Linked DNA regions of Homo sapiens: all the other regions are linked to region 3. Evidence: promoter capture Hi-C in 16 types of primary human blood cells and fetal thymus (Javierre and others, 2016). All regions are on one chromosome and are shown on one strand. The core of a region is centred on a gene start or on the middle of the fragment in contact, and the rest is flanking DNA. Distances in the headings are between cores, read along the strand shown. Region 1 has its middle 110 kb from the start of ARRDC3. Region 2 has its middle 130 kb from the start of ARRDC3. Region 3 holds the start of NR2F1-AS1 (NR2F1 regulatory antisense RNA 1).

What was found. Contacts are between HindIII fragments. The CHiCAGO score rates a contact against its expected background, and 5 or more counts as called.
Region 1: a fragment that was not itself captured here is called in contact with the fragment with the promoter of NR2F1-AS1 in region 3 in 3 of 17 cell types (naive CD8 T cells, M0 macrophages and M1 macrophages); the score reaches 10.0 in naive CD8 T cells.
Region 2: a fragment that was not itself captured here is called in contact with the fragment with the promoter of NR2F1-AS1 in region 3 in 3 of 17 cell types (M2 macrophages, naive CD8 T cells and total CD4 T cells); the score reaches 7.6 in M2 macrophages.

What each region holds. Positions count from the first base shown.
Region 1 is chr5:91,487,010-91,490,668 of GRCh38, reverse strand. No RefSeq gene overlaps it. Among named protein-coding and RNA genes, the nearest start is that of ARRDC3, 110 kb to the right of the region's middle. RefSeq lists an enhancer at 2,781-3,328. The HindIII fragment of the contact is 5,127 bases long and covers 1-3,659 here.
Region 2 is chr5:91,510,306-91,514,313 of GRCh38, reverse strand. No RefSeq gene overlaps it. Among named protein-coding and RNA genes, the nearest start is that of ARRDC3, 130 kb to the right of the region's middle. The HindIII fragment of the contact is 4,377 bases long and covers 1-4,008 here.
Region 3 is chr5:93,578,854-93,582,505 of GRCh38, reverse strand. It overlaps NR2F1-AS1 (NR2F1 regulatory antisense RNA 1), which reads left to right and starts at 1,287. Exons shown (of 8, transcript NR_186187.1): 1 at 1,287-1,364. RefSeq lists a silencer at 842-891 and an enhancer at 1,012-1,111. The HindIII fragment of the contact is 7,751 bases long and covers 1-3,652 here.

The DNA of each region.
Region 1 (3,659 bases), core at 195-2,694, 2.1 Mb after region 3:
CCGGTAATAAATCTAACATCAGGATTCTTCTTATTGTCTGTTATCATCTGATGACAATGCCTTTTACCATCATTGTCTTGGCAGAAATATGATATGTAAAATTATAATGTCATATTACTCACAGTGATTTAACACTCTCCAGCCCATACCATTTTAATCAATCAAAATTGTCGCTTTTTAGTGTAATGATTTTGTGGTGAATTCCCGTGTTTAATATGATATATGGTCCTATCCACCAGTTGATTTACTATTCTCTTCCAAAGTCTAACAGCTCAGGAGGCTGTTCTTGCTTTTGGACATATTTGGAATTAGCAAACAAGAATAATTTGTGGTAATAAAAATGCTAATTTCTATGACAAAAATGAAAGCTGAGAAATATCTTAAGTGCTAGTAGCTGAAGCTAATTTAAGAAAAAATAAAAGATGATTTTGTGAATTAAAACCACAGAAGTCCTAGAGCTTTTTCCTCTGTGTCCACATATTCTTCAATGCTATCAAGAAAAATCAGGAACACACAAACTATTCTCCTTCATTAAATTCGGATACACATTGTAGAAATTTCTTCTTTAAAAAAGTAATTTGAAAGGCAATTTAAAGTGATTATCAAATATTTATAAATCTTTTCTACTAGAAAAAAGCTAGTAAAAATCAACCTCAGATCTCATTCCTGAACTATGTTATACATTTAGAATTGACTATGGTGCAATAACAACCAACCACCAAATCTCAATGGCCAATGCCATAATTTCTCACTTATACTATGTACCCCAAAGAGGTCCACAGTCACTTAGGGATGCAGTGCCTGAGGGACCCATGCTACAGACTCCACATAGGCCACCAGGGAGTCACTTAGGGAACCCGGTTTGTGAAGACTCTGCTCTCCTATGTCTGCACATCTGGAATCTGCAGCCTCCTGAGACACCATAGAGAGCTGGGTAGTAATAATTTCCACATCACAGAAGGAGGAAAGAGAAGGCAGGGTCTCATGCTAGTGATTAAATGATGAAATTACACACCTGAGCACATGTCTCTTGTGCTCAGAGCCCATTGGCCAGAACTAGTTTTAAGGTTCCTCTCCAACTGGAAGTTGGGGAAGAAACATAATCCCCCCATTTGCCTGGAAGGAAAAAACAGGATATGGATGAACGCTAAACATCTTAAACTTGCAGGTTTTCAAAGAAAAAAAAATGTACACGTTTATTCCAGGCAACTCTCTTTGTAGAATCTTGAAAACCATATATTAGCTCTGGAATCTGTCATCTTACACAGTGAGAGAGAAAATTACCTATATGACTCTAGATGAGATGACCAACTGATTCCATTATTTAAGTGACTGTGTATATTTAAGTGAGAAGAAGGCAAATATTCTGCCCATAGTTTAATAAAAGCACTGATCTTTAAAATTGAAACCTTTTACCAATTGGCAGAGTCATAAAAATAATTTAAAATAAAAATTGTTGTTTTGGCACAGTCATCCCAGTTCTGGCTTGTTGAAGCATAAAGACAGATTTTTCAGAACAAAAATATTAATAAGAAATTTAAGAATCTAATATTTCTTATTTAACCTTAACAGAATGGGTTGAGGTTCTTTCAAACTTATTAAAACCCACTGTTACTGGTGCCCCTGGCCCAAACCATTGAGAAGATGTCATTGTAGTTCCCAGAGTGCAGAATCAACTGCTCCTACCTTCAGCTGGTTTCCTAAGGCCCACCCTATGCTGGTGGCAAGAGGAATATGGGAGTTTGATCATTCATCTAATGAATATTTGCTGAATACCTACAATATGCCTAATAGTATGGCACTCTGCCATTCTTTTGAGAATGTGACAATACCTGAAATAACAAAAGTTGTTTTTTTTTTTTCTTGAACTTCACATACTAGTGAGAGGACAAACAAGAGTAAGGGGAGCCAGGGAGTAAACAACCACAAAATCCCAGTGGCCAAACACCAAAATTTCTCACTCATGCTATGTACCCCAAACAGGCCTATCTATAGTCAACAACAACAACAAAAAAAACATAATTACGTAGATCATTCCATGTAACTATGAATGTCATGAAAAAATAAAGTCAAATAATAGGAGAGACAAGCATGGAATTTGGAGCTACTGTGGAGTAGATGGCCAGAAAAGGGCTTGAAGGATGTGACATTTCAGTTGAGAGCAGGAGGATATGAGAGAGCCTGGGCAAAGAATTTGGGGTTGAAGGAACCCAAAGGCAAAGGCTTAAAGCCAGAAATAATTTGGGCACACTGGAAAAAACTACCAGGGCCACAGGGCTGAGGTGTAATAGGCCAAGTCAAGGCAGCAACAGGGAAAAATAAGAAAACGGGTCAATAGCAACTCAAGATAACTAAACAGCCCACAGACTTTCAAACCATTAATGTGGTATAGAACAGAAAGTTTCATGTGGTGATCAATAGTTCATGTTAAACAAGTTCAGTATGGTGGCTAGACCATCAAAGAGTGTAAAACTTATCCTTCAAGTCCAAGAAGCACTCTAGAAGAGGTTTAGTTGGTTAAAATTTTGAAGTGATGAGTATGAACTTGGAGCTGTGGTTGGGGGTGGAGGGAGTATAAGAAATTTAATCTGTGTTAAAAATGTTACAACTATATGAAAAAAAGCAGAGCATATACCCTAGAGAATGAATCAAAAACTTTTGAAACACAGTGTCACTAAGTAAAAATTATCATGAGACAAATTAAATCCCACGTGTTGAGGGAAGAGTCGAAAACAAGGAAAGTTACTCAAGAGAGGGTGAATTCTATTTGGAATTTTGAAATAGAGGCCAGATGAAAGATTTGCTAGTGGAATGCTAGAAAAGTATCAAAGCAAGGTATTCCATGTGGAGAGAAAGAAGTGTGCAAAGTGGGAATAAATGGTTATTGTTTTGGTTATCTATGCATTACAAAACGTTGCAAATTCTAGTAGCTTAAAGCAATGTATAGTCTCTCATGGCTCTGTGGATTGACTGGGCTCTGCTGAGTAGCTCTTATTTGAAGTGTCTCATACAACGGAAGACAATGGCTGAGGCTTAACTGAGCCACTCATCCAAGATAGCAATTAATGCTGGCTCCTGGTGGGAAGCCCAGTTGCAGCATTCAACTGGAATACCTACAAGTGGCCTCTCTTTGTGGCTGGAGCTTCTCACAGCAACAGCAACTTTCTGAATGGAAATGTCTCATAAGTAAGCATTGCAACAAACAAGACAGGATCTGTGTAGCTTCTTATCACCTATCCTCAGACATCCCATAACATAATTTTCACCACATTTTATTGGTCAAGAAAGTCACTGAGGTCAGCCCAGATTCAAGAAGAGGGAAATTAAAAATCCTCTTCTTGACATAAGTAGAAGCATGTCTATATAAAAAGGAACAGAATTCATAGGGACATTCTTTTACTATCAGTTTGCCTTTTGGCCACCAAAATTTGTGCCTGTACCACTCACTCTTTCAAGATTCTCAATATTCTCATCCCACTATGGCATCAGGCTCAGGTTTGAGGTTCAAGATCTTGTTATTTAAACTGGGTCCAAGTGCAGATGTGCCATGTTTCTTCAGGTTCAAATCTTGCAAGTACAGTTTCTGTAAATCTGAAGACTTGTTAACTTAAGAGACAAATTATCTGCCACATACACATATCACACAATAGTGAAAAGGC
Region 2 (4,008 bases), core at 937-3,436, 2.1 Mb after region 3:
GCATGGCAAAAGAAGTGGCCAACAGAAGAAAAGACAATCTACAGAATGTGACAAAATATTTGCAAATCATGCATCTGATAAGGAGCTCATATACAAAAAATATAACGAACTCAAATAACTCAATAGCAAGAAAACAAATAACCTGATTTTTAGAATGGGAAAAAAAAAACAAACCTGAGCAGCCCTTTCTCTAAAGACATCCAAACAGTCAACAAGTACATGAAAACATTCAACACATCACTAATCATCAGGGAAATGTGAATAAAAACTACAATGAGCTATCACCTTACACCAGGATGGATATTATAAAAAAGACAAAAGATAAGTGTTGACAAGTATGTAGAGAAAAGGGAATATTTGTACACTTTGTGGAAGTGTAAATTAGTATATCCATTATGGAAAACAGTATGGGGTTTCCATAAAAATAAAAAAAAATAGCATGTGATCAAAGAGTTCTACCTCTGGGTATTTATCCAAAAGAATTGAAATCAGGATCTGGAATAGATATTTGCACTCCTGAGCTCATTGCAGCATTATTCACAATAATCAAGATATAGAATCAACTTAATCAACAGATGAATGGATAACAAAAATGTGGTATATGTATACAACGGACTACTATTCAGCCTTAAAAAAAGAAAAACCTGTCATTTGCAACAACATGGATGAACCTGGAGGCCATTAAGCTAAGTGAAATACGACAGACACAGAAAGAAAGATATCACATGATCTCACTTATATGTGGAATCTAAAAGAGTTGAACTCATAGCAGCAAATAGTAGGATGATGATCGCTAGGGGATGGGGGCTGTAGCAGGGAGACGTTGGTCAAAGGACACAAAATTTCAGTTAGAAAGGAGGAATAAGTTCAAGACATCTACTGTAAAATGTGGTGATACGTTAATAACAGTGAATTCTATTGCGCGAGATCTGAATATTAAGGCAACCATGTAGTGGTCTCCCTGATTCTCCTTCTGTCTATACTTTCCCTTCATGGCATTTACCACAACTGTAATTTATTACTCTTATAACTATCTGTTTAACACATGGTGCCTCCACTAAGCTGTGACTTCACAAGGACCATGACCATTTCTGTCTTCCATCATTGCATCCCCAGAACCTAGCACAGGAACTATTGCACAGGAAGTGCTTAAAGAATGCTCATTGAATGGATGTAAATGCAAGCCTTTTTGTCTAAAAGCTCTAAGATCAACTACCTTTTACTTGAATCATGGATAGTCATTACTGGTACATTTCACCATGAAATACACAATTAAACACAATAATTAAACTTCAAGAAAAAAACATGAGTTTTTACCAATACATAATCAAAATAAAGTTCAATATTTCCATGTGTTCCAGATAGAATGCCTTCAAATGGTTTATCGCATCAAATAACATTGTTGGTCACTTTCAAAAGGTATACTGATTCTACTGCAATTATTCTACAGCTACTCGCGTGTGTAGGTTTTGCTGAAAAGATCAATTGGTAACGATCTTTCTATGGAAGAACATAAACATCATTCTTTGATTTGTTGCTAGAGCTGTTATTTGCAGAGCCTAAGGCTGCTTAAGTCTTTACTTTAAACTCAAGGTTTACCTGAAACCTTTACGAAAGGAGAGGGAAAACATTTATGATTGTTCCATTCAGTGAGTTGTCTGTTACTGACATTACTTTTATTAAACCAATTTTAATCTATTAAAAATAGTTTCAAAAACTATGATTGGGATTCTCTCAAAAAAATCAAATAAGTAAAATATTGATTACCACAGAGACCATAGCAAATGTGCATTTTATATTTAATGCAATTTAAGTGAAAACTCTAAAATTGTAAGGGAAACCTGTCCCTTTTGCAGAGTTGGAAAAAGAATAAACTGCTTGAAAAACCTTGATACATGTAAAGAAATTACATGGAGAGATGTTTGTTAGAATAGCAATGGTGAAAACTGCTAAGTAAAGGGAAATCACAGTAGTTAGACTTACCAGAACCAGAAAATTAATTTAATATTAATGTTCACTTACAGGTTTAATTTTAAACATTCTTTTAAAGCTCTTATATAGTAGGTCTTTACAATGCATCAGACATTCTGCTAAGCATCTTAGATAACTTCTTAAAATTTAACTCCCAATTTCAAAAATGATCCTACAATGTAAGAATAATGATGTTTATTCTATAAAGAAATGACGCCCTGTTAACAAGCAAAATCACTAGGATCTTAAATTTCTTTCTTTTCAAAATTCTAATTATTAATTGCTACACTATATTGGCTGCACAACTTTATTAGTTAGACAATTCCAAAGTGAGAAGCATTTCAACAACAATTTTGAAAGCCCAAATTCAAAAACTTCTCCTTATAAGTCAAGTAAATCTGTAATTTAAAATCTGAACACAGAAAATCTAAGTAGTGTCAGCAAATATCTTTGTCACACTTGCCTTCTACAGTCCCTCTGGAGTAATTCAACAACCACTGCAAGCATACTGGCAGAGACTAGGGGATGTCTCTGAGATCCCTACTTCTATCCACATCTCCAAGGAGACCATGATCGAAACTCCCTTCTAAAAGGCAGATGACAGTCAAGGGAAAAATTACAAAGAAAAGGAACAGCTTCTCCTCCAAGGCAGAGATCTCAAATTTGTTGGCTTTTCTACAGAGTACAGTTAGCAAAAGTCAACAGAATCCATTCATCCACTGAACAGTGAGAGAAAATTCCTCCTAGGCACATGCTATGTGGAGTCCTTGGGCCAGCAGCACAGTCCCACTGGCCCCAGTTGTCCTAGAAGACAGCTAGCTGCTTGACAAAACTAAATTGCTCCCAGTCTCTGTGATGAGAGGACTAACTTTGGACCCTAAAAAATCTCAGACCAGAGAATCTTCTTCCCAACAAGTAAGAGAAGAGTGAGAGTTGGCCAAGTCTTTTTTTTTCCTGAGTTTATATATATATGTATATACATATATATGTGTATATATATATGTGTGTGTGTGTGTGTATATATATGTGTGTGTGTATATATATATAATTATACTTTAATTTCTAGGGTACATGTGCACAACTTATTACTAGCCTGAGAGAGTAGAAAGCAGTCGTACAAACTGATAAATGAAAAAGAGCCAATACAAAAGTGGGCAATTTTAGGAAGCACATATTCCAACTATAAACAAACAAATGAAATGGTGTATAATCTCACTAATAGTCGGGAAATTAAAATTTAAAAAACATGTGATGCCACCTGTCAAAATGGCAAAGTTAAAAATATTAATGCATGCTGCGAAGAATGTAGAAAAACTAGTACTTTCTATGCAATGGAGGCCATATAAAATGCTAAAAAGCTCTTAGAAAATAATCTAGTAATACCTATTAAAAGTGAAATTTCAAATATTCTTAAAAGCAGAAATTCCACTTTAGGAAACATATTGGACAACAATGCGAGCATCAGAACATAGGAATATAGGTACAAGGATACTTTTGTGTTAAAAGAAAACTGAAATCAGCTTGAATATCATCTATAGGAATATGATTAAACATACTGTAGTATGTCCATTCCATGCAATATAAACCAGCCACTAAAGGGAATGTTTTAACTTTATTAATCTGGAAGTCTACGAAAAAAGCAAAGTGATGACAATATGTAAAGTAAGATTTTCTTATTTAAAAACCTAAGTAAGTGTATACATGTTTGATACATTGGCATAGACATGAAGAAAGATGCAGAATATCACACATTGTACTATTAATGTAGTTGATTTCAGGGGAGATAGAAATAGACACATATGTGGAAATCATTATCTTTTCCTTTATATATCTCTAGATTTTTTATCTGGCACCAGTGGGATATTATTTTGGAATTTTTTTAATTCAAAGAAAAAAGTATTAGATGAAATAACTATCAATATAACAACGATCTGACTTTATATGAATTTAAGTAATATTTAATTTCCAATGTTTCATATCCAAAATAACTAGATTAAAATGTATTAAATGGATTGCTATATTTCTATGATAAAAATG
Region 3 (3,652 bases), core at 38-2,537:
GCTCATTTTATATCCTTTTTAGAAACAAGTAGAAACAGGGTAGGATCTCCCTATTTTTTAATCCAAAGTATACCTTGGTTTAAAAGGTTTAATGATGACAAAGCACACTCCTGGAATTTGCAGCTATTGCCACAAATTCGATCGGAATCAAGGGTTCCTATTTATCCCAAAGATGATTTTAAAAATAAACTTTCCAATCAATCCAATTTTTCCTTCTTCTTTTTTTTTTTTTTTATCACCTGGCTGTTCCAAACTCCAACAATGCTTCAATCATTATTAATAAAACAGTAGTAAGTCCCCATATTGTTGCAGGGTGGGGGGAGATTAGTGTGGCCAAGTCAGTCCCGGGAAAAGAGCAAACAAACGAGAAGATGGAGAGGGGGGGAGGCGGAGAGGGAGAGAGAAAAGGGGGAGGAGGAGAGAGAGAGACAGAGAGAGAGGAGAGGAAAGGAAAGAGAGGAGAGAGGAGAGCGCGCGAGATATTGAGAGAGAGAGAGAGAGAAGAGAGGAGAGGGGAGAGAGAGAGAGAGGAGAGAGAGAGAGACCCAGAGAGAGAGGAGAGAGAGAGAGACCCAGAGAGAGAGAGAGAGAGAGAGACCCAGAGAGAGAGAGAGAGACCGAGAGAGAGAGGAGAGAGGAGAGAGAGAGAGAGGAGAGAGAGAGAGAGAGGAGAGAGAGAGAGAGAGAGACGAGAGGGAGAGGGAGAGGGAGAGGGAGAGGGAGAGGGAGAGGGAGAGGGAGAGAGGAGAGGGAGAGGGAGAGGGAGAGGGGGAGAGAGAGAGAGAGAGAGAGAGAGAGAGAGAGAGAGAGAGAGAGAGAGAGAGAGAGAGAGAGAGACCGAGACCCCGATTCCTGAATCCTGAAGGTGATTGGTCGCGGGAGGAGGGGCAGGCGGGAGGAGCGGGTCCCGCGGCGGGGCTTGCAGGAATCGCTGGCTCCGGCTGCCACCTAGCGGACGGGAGCCGCTCCCGGGCGGCACACAGCCGAGTCCCTCCTCCCCTCCCCGCAGGCAGCCTGTGCCTTTTCTCCAAACGAAGACAGCACTTTGAAAATTCTTTCAATGGATTTTTTTTTCCTTGAAAGATCGTACTGGGGGAAAATGATACTTCTATTAGTTACATATTCTCCAATCGCATACTCGCACCCCCCTCGTTTTGAGATCGCTCCCCTAGGCAGGCTCAGGCGGGCGCGGAGCCGCGCGGAGTGACAAAGCCGCCGCTGCCGCCGCCGGGGGTGGGAGCCGCGCTCGCCCGCCCGCCCCTCGACTCGCGAGGGCGTAAAAGTTTGTCTCAGCTCGAGCATTCCTAGCGCCAACACGCCCTCAGGTAAAGGTGGAAGTAAATGGCCACGCTGTATTGACAGAGGTAGGGTTTGTTTTTTAATACTCGTTCTCACTTTAAGTCTCACCAGGGAGGGGTTTGGGAAGCACTGCGTGTTTGGGGGACGTTTTGCGCTTCCTGGTCTCTCCAGCCTACAAGTCGGGAGTCGGCGACCGCTTAGTGACGAGCGATGATTTTAAAGAGCAGAATAAAAGGTTTTCCCGTGCCTGCCCCACAGCCCCTCCAGCTCGAATAATGGAGAACTGTCAATGCACTCCGCGAGCGGTGGCCCATTGTACGCAGCTGATGGCGAGGAGGCGACTGGGGGTAGCAGGGGCTCCTTGCCCTCGTCCCTATGCCCAAATAAACGCGCAAACGCGCTCCCGTCTTCTGGTCAGTTAAAAGGTGAAACGAACACGATTAAAATAGACCAAAAGAAAAGAAAGAAAAGAAAACCTTTCTATGTACAGATTCTAAATCGTACTCCCCATACAGTCAGAGGCAGGGAGTCGAGGGCAGAGGCAGCAGGCGGAGAGAGGGAGATAGGGCGAGGGAAGGAGAACGCGGAGAGAGACGAAGGGAGTGGGAGACCAGCGACAGCGAGCGCCAGGGCACCGCAGGCACACTGGATGCCCAGTCCGCCGGCCCAGCCGCCCTCGGACCCTGGACCGTGCGTCGTGGGCACCAGAAACGAGACTCGGCCAAATCCTGCCTCACCAGGCAAGTAACATAATGGTTGTCGTTTCTCTTGAACTTGGGGTTGGTAACGGGCAGGGCCGGGAGGCAGTCTTGGCTCGCACGGCCTCCGCAGGCCGAGAGCAGAGTCTAGGCAGCCAGGGCGGGACGAGGAGAACTTTCTTCGGGGCCTGCTCGGGAGTTGCCCTCGCTCGGCCTCTGTCTCGCCGTAGCGCTAAGGCGAGGATCGCGGCCGCCGCGCCTCCTTGGAGGGGAGGATCGTGCCAGGCGAGCAGCAATCCACATTCAAAACAGGCTGCTCCCACCCCCACCCGCTATTCCCTCTCTCTCCTAGGCGGGAAACGGATGCCCGGGCGGAGGACGGGGACCCGCACGTTTAACACCGGCCCGGCTGTTCCTGCTGGTGCCGAGCGCGACCCGCGGTGGAGCCGGCTGCAGAGTCCGGCCCGGCTGGCCCTTGTGCCCGCGCCTTGCCTGGTTACGGCCTGAACCTGGCGAGCTTGGCTGCAGCCGCCCACCTGCGGACGCCGTTTGTAACGCCATCCCCTAATGTAACGCGATCGATGGCTGCCTGTCTGATGTGGGCGATAGTGTCAGCGGATTAAAAGGGACATCGAGCCGCTCTCCCGAGCAGACAACCTGCGGCGGCGGCGAGAGAGCACCGGGATTCGCAGCCTAGCAGCCGAGCCAGACTCCCTGCGCCGCTGCCAGCCGGCTGGGGGCGGGGAGGGGGTCGCCTCCCAGGGGTGGGGACAGAGGGGGTGTGTTGAAAGGAAGAGGCTCAATTAAAACCAACAAGAGCGCTTTCCTCCGTGCGGGGCAGGGGCGTGCGTTTGCGTCAGAGGGCGCGCGGGGGGCGGGGGCAGCCGATGCTGGGGACTGCACCCGGGGGCTGGGGGGTCTCGGAAGCGAGGAGGCCTTGCCTAGCTGGGCTGGCCCGGGGTCAGGCCCTGTAGGTGAGGGCCAAGGCGAGACGGGATGACAGCTGAGCCTGCCCGGGAGCAGAGGCGCCCACCCATCCTTACTGTGGGCTCTCCGTGCCCCCACAGAGCTTTCAAACTTGAAAGAGGCCCCTGGGACCCGGCGTGACCCTAGCGGTGGGGAGAAGTTGGGCCCGCGAGGCCTCAGGCGAAGCCGCGGGCTCCTCCGGAAGGAAGGAGGAGGGTGAAGTCCCCTGTCCTAGTCCCAGGGGTGGGAGTGGGAAGCTGTTGGTGGTGATGCCCGGAGCAGCGGAAGCCCGCGGCTTTTCGGAGGAGGGGAGCGGCTCGCACTCCTACGGGGCATCCTTGCCAACTTTCTGTCACAAGAGGGGGCGGGGAGAAACCAAGGCTTTTCGAGGAGGGCGCTGTCCCCCTCTGGAACTCGTCCGGCCTGAGTGGCACTTAGAGCTCAGTTTCTCTTCGGAAGCCTGTGCTCCCCGACCGCGGTTGCACACCCACAGGGCGCCCCACTTGTGCTCATAGCCCTGCCTCCAGCAAAAATGTCTTCCCTAGAGGCACTGAGAGGTCAGCTTAGTTCCTGGGAAGCCCTTTCTTTCTTTCTTCAAGGCTCTCTTTTGATACTGGTCCCAATTGGCACACTTGTCCTGGGCCTAATGCGACCCACACTCAACCAGGAAATAATGATATCTGTTGTTG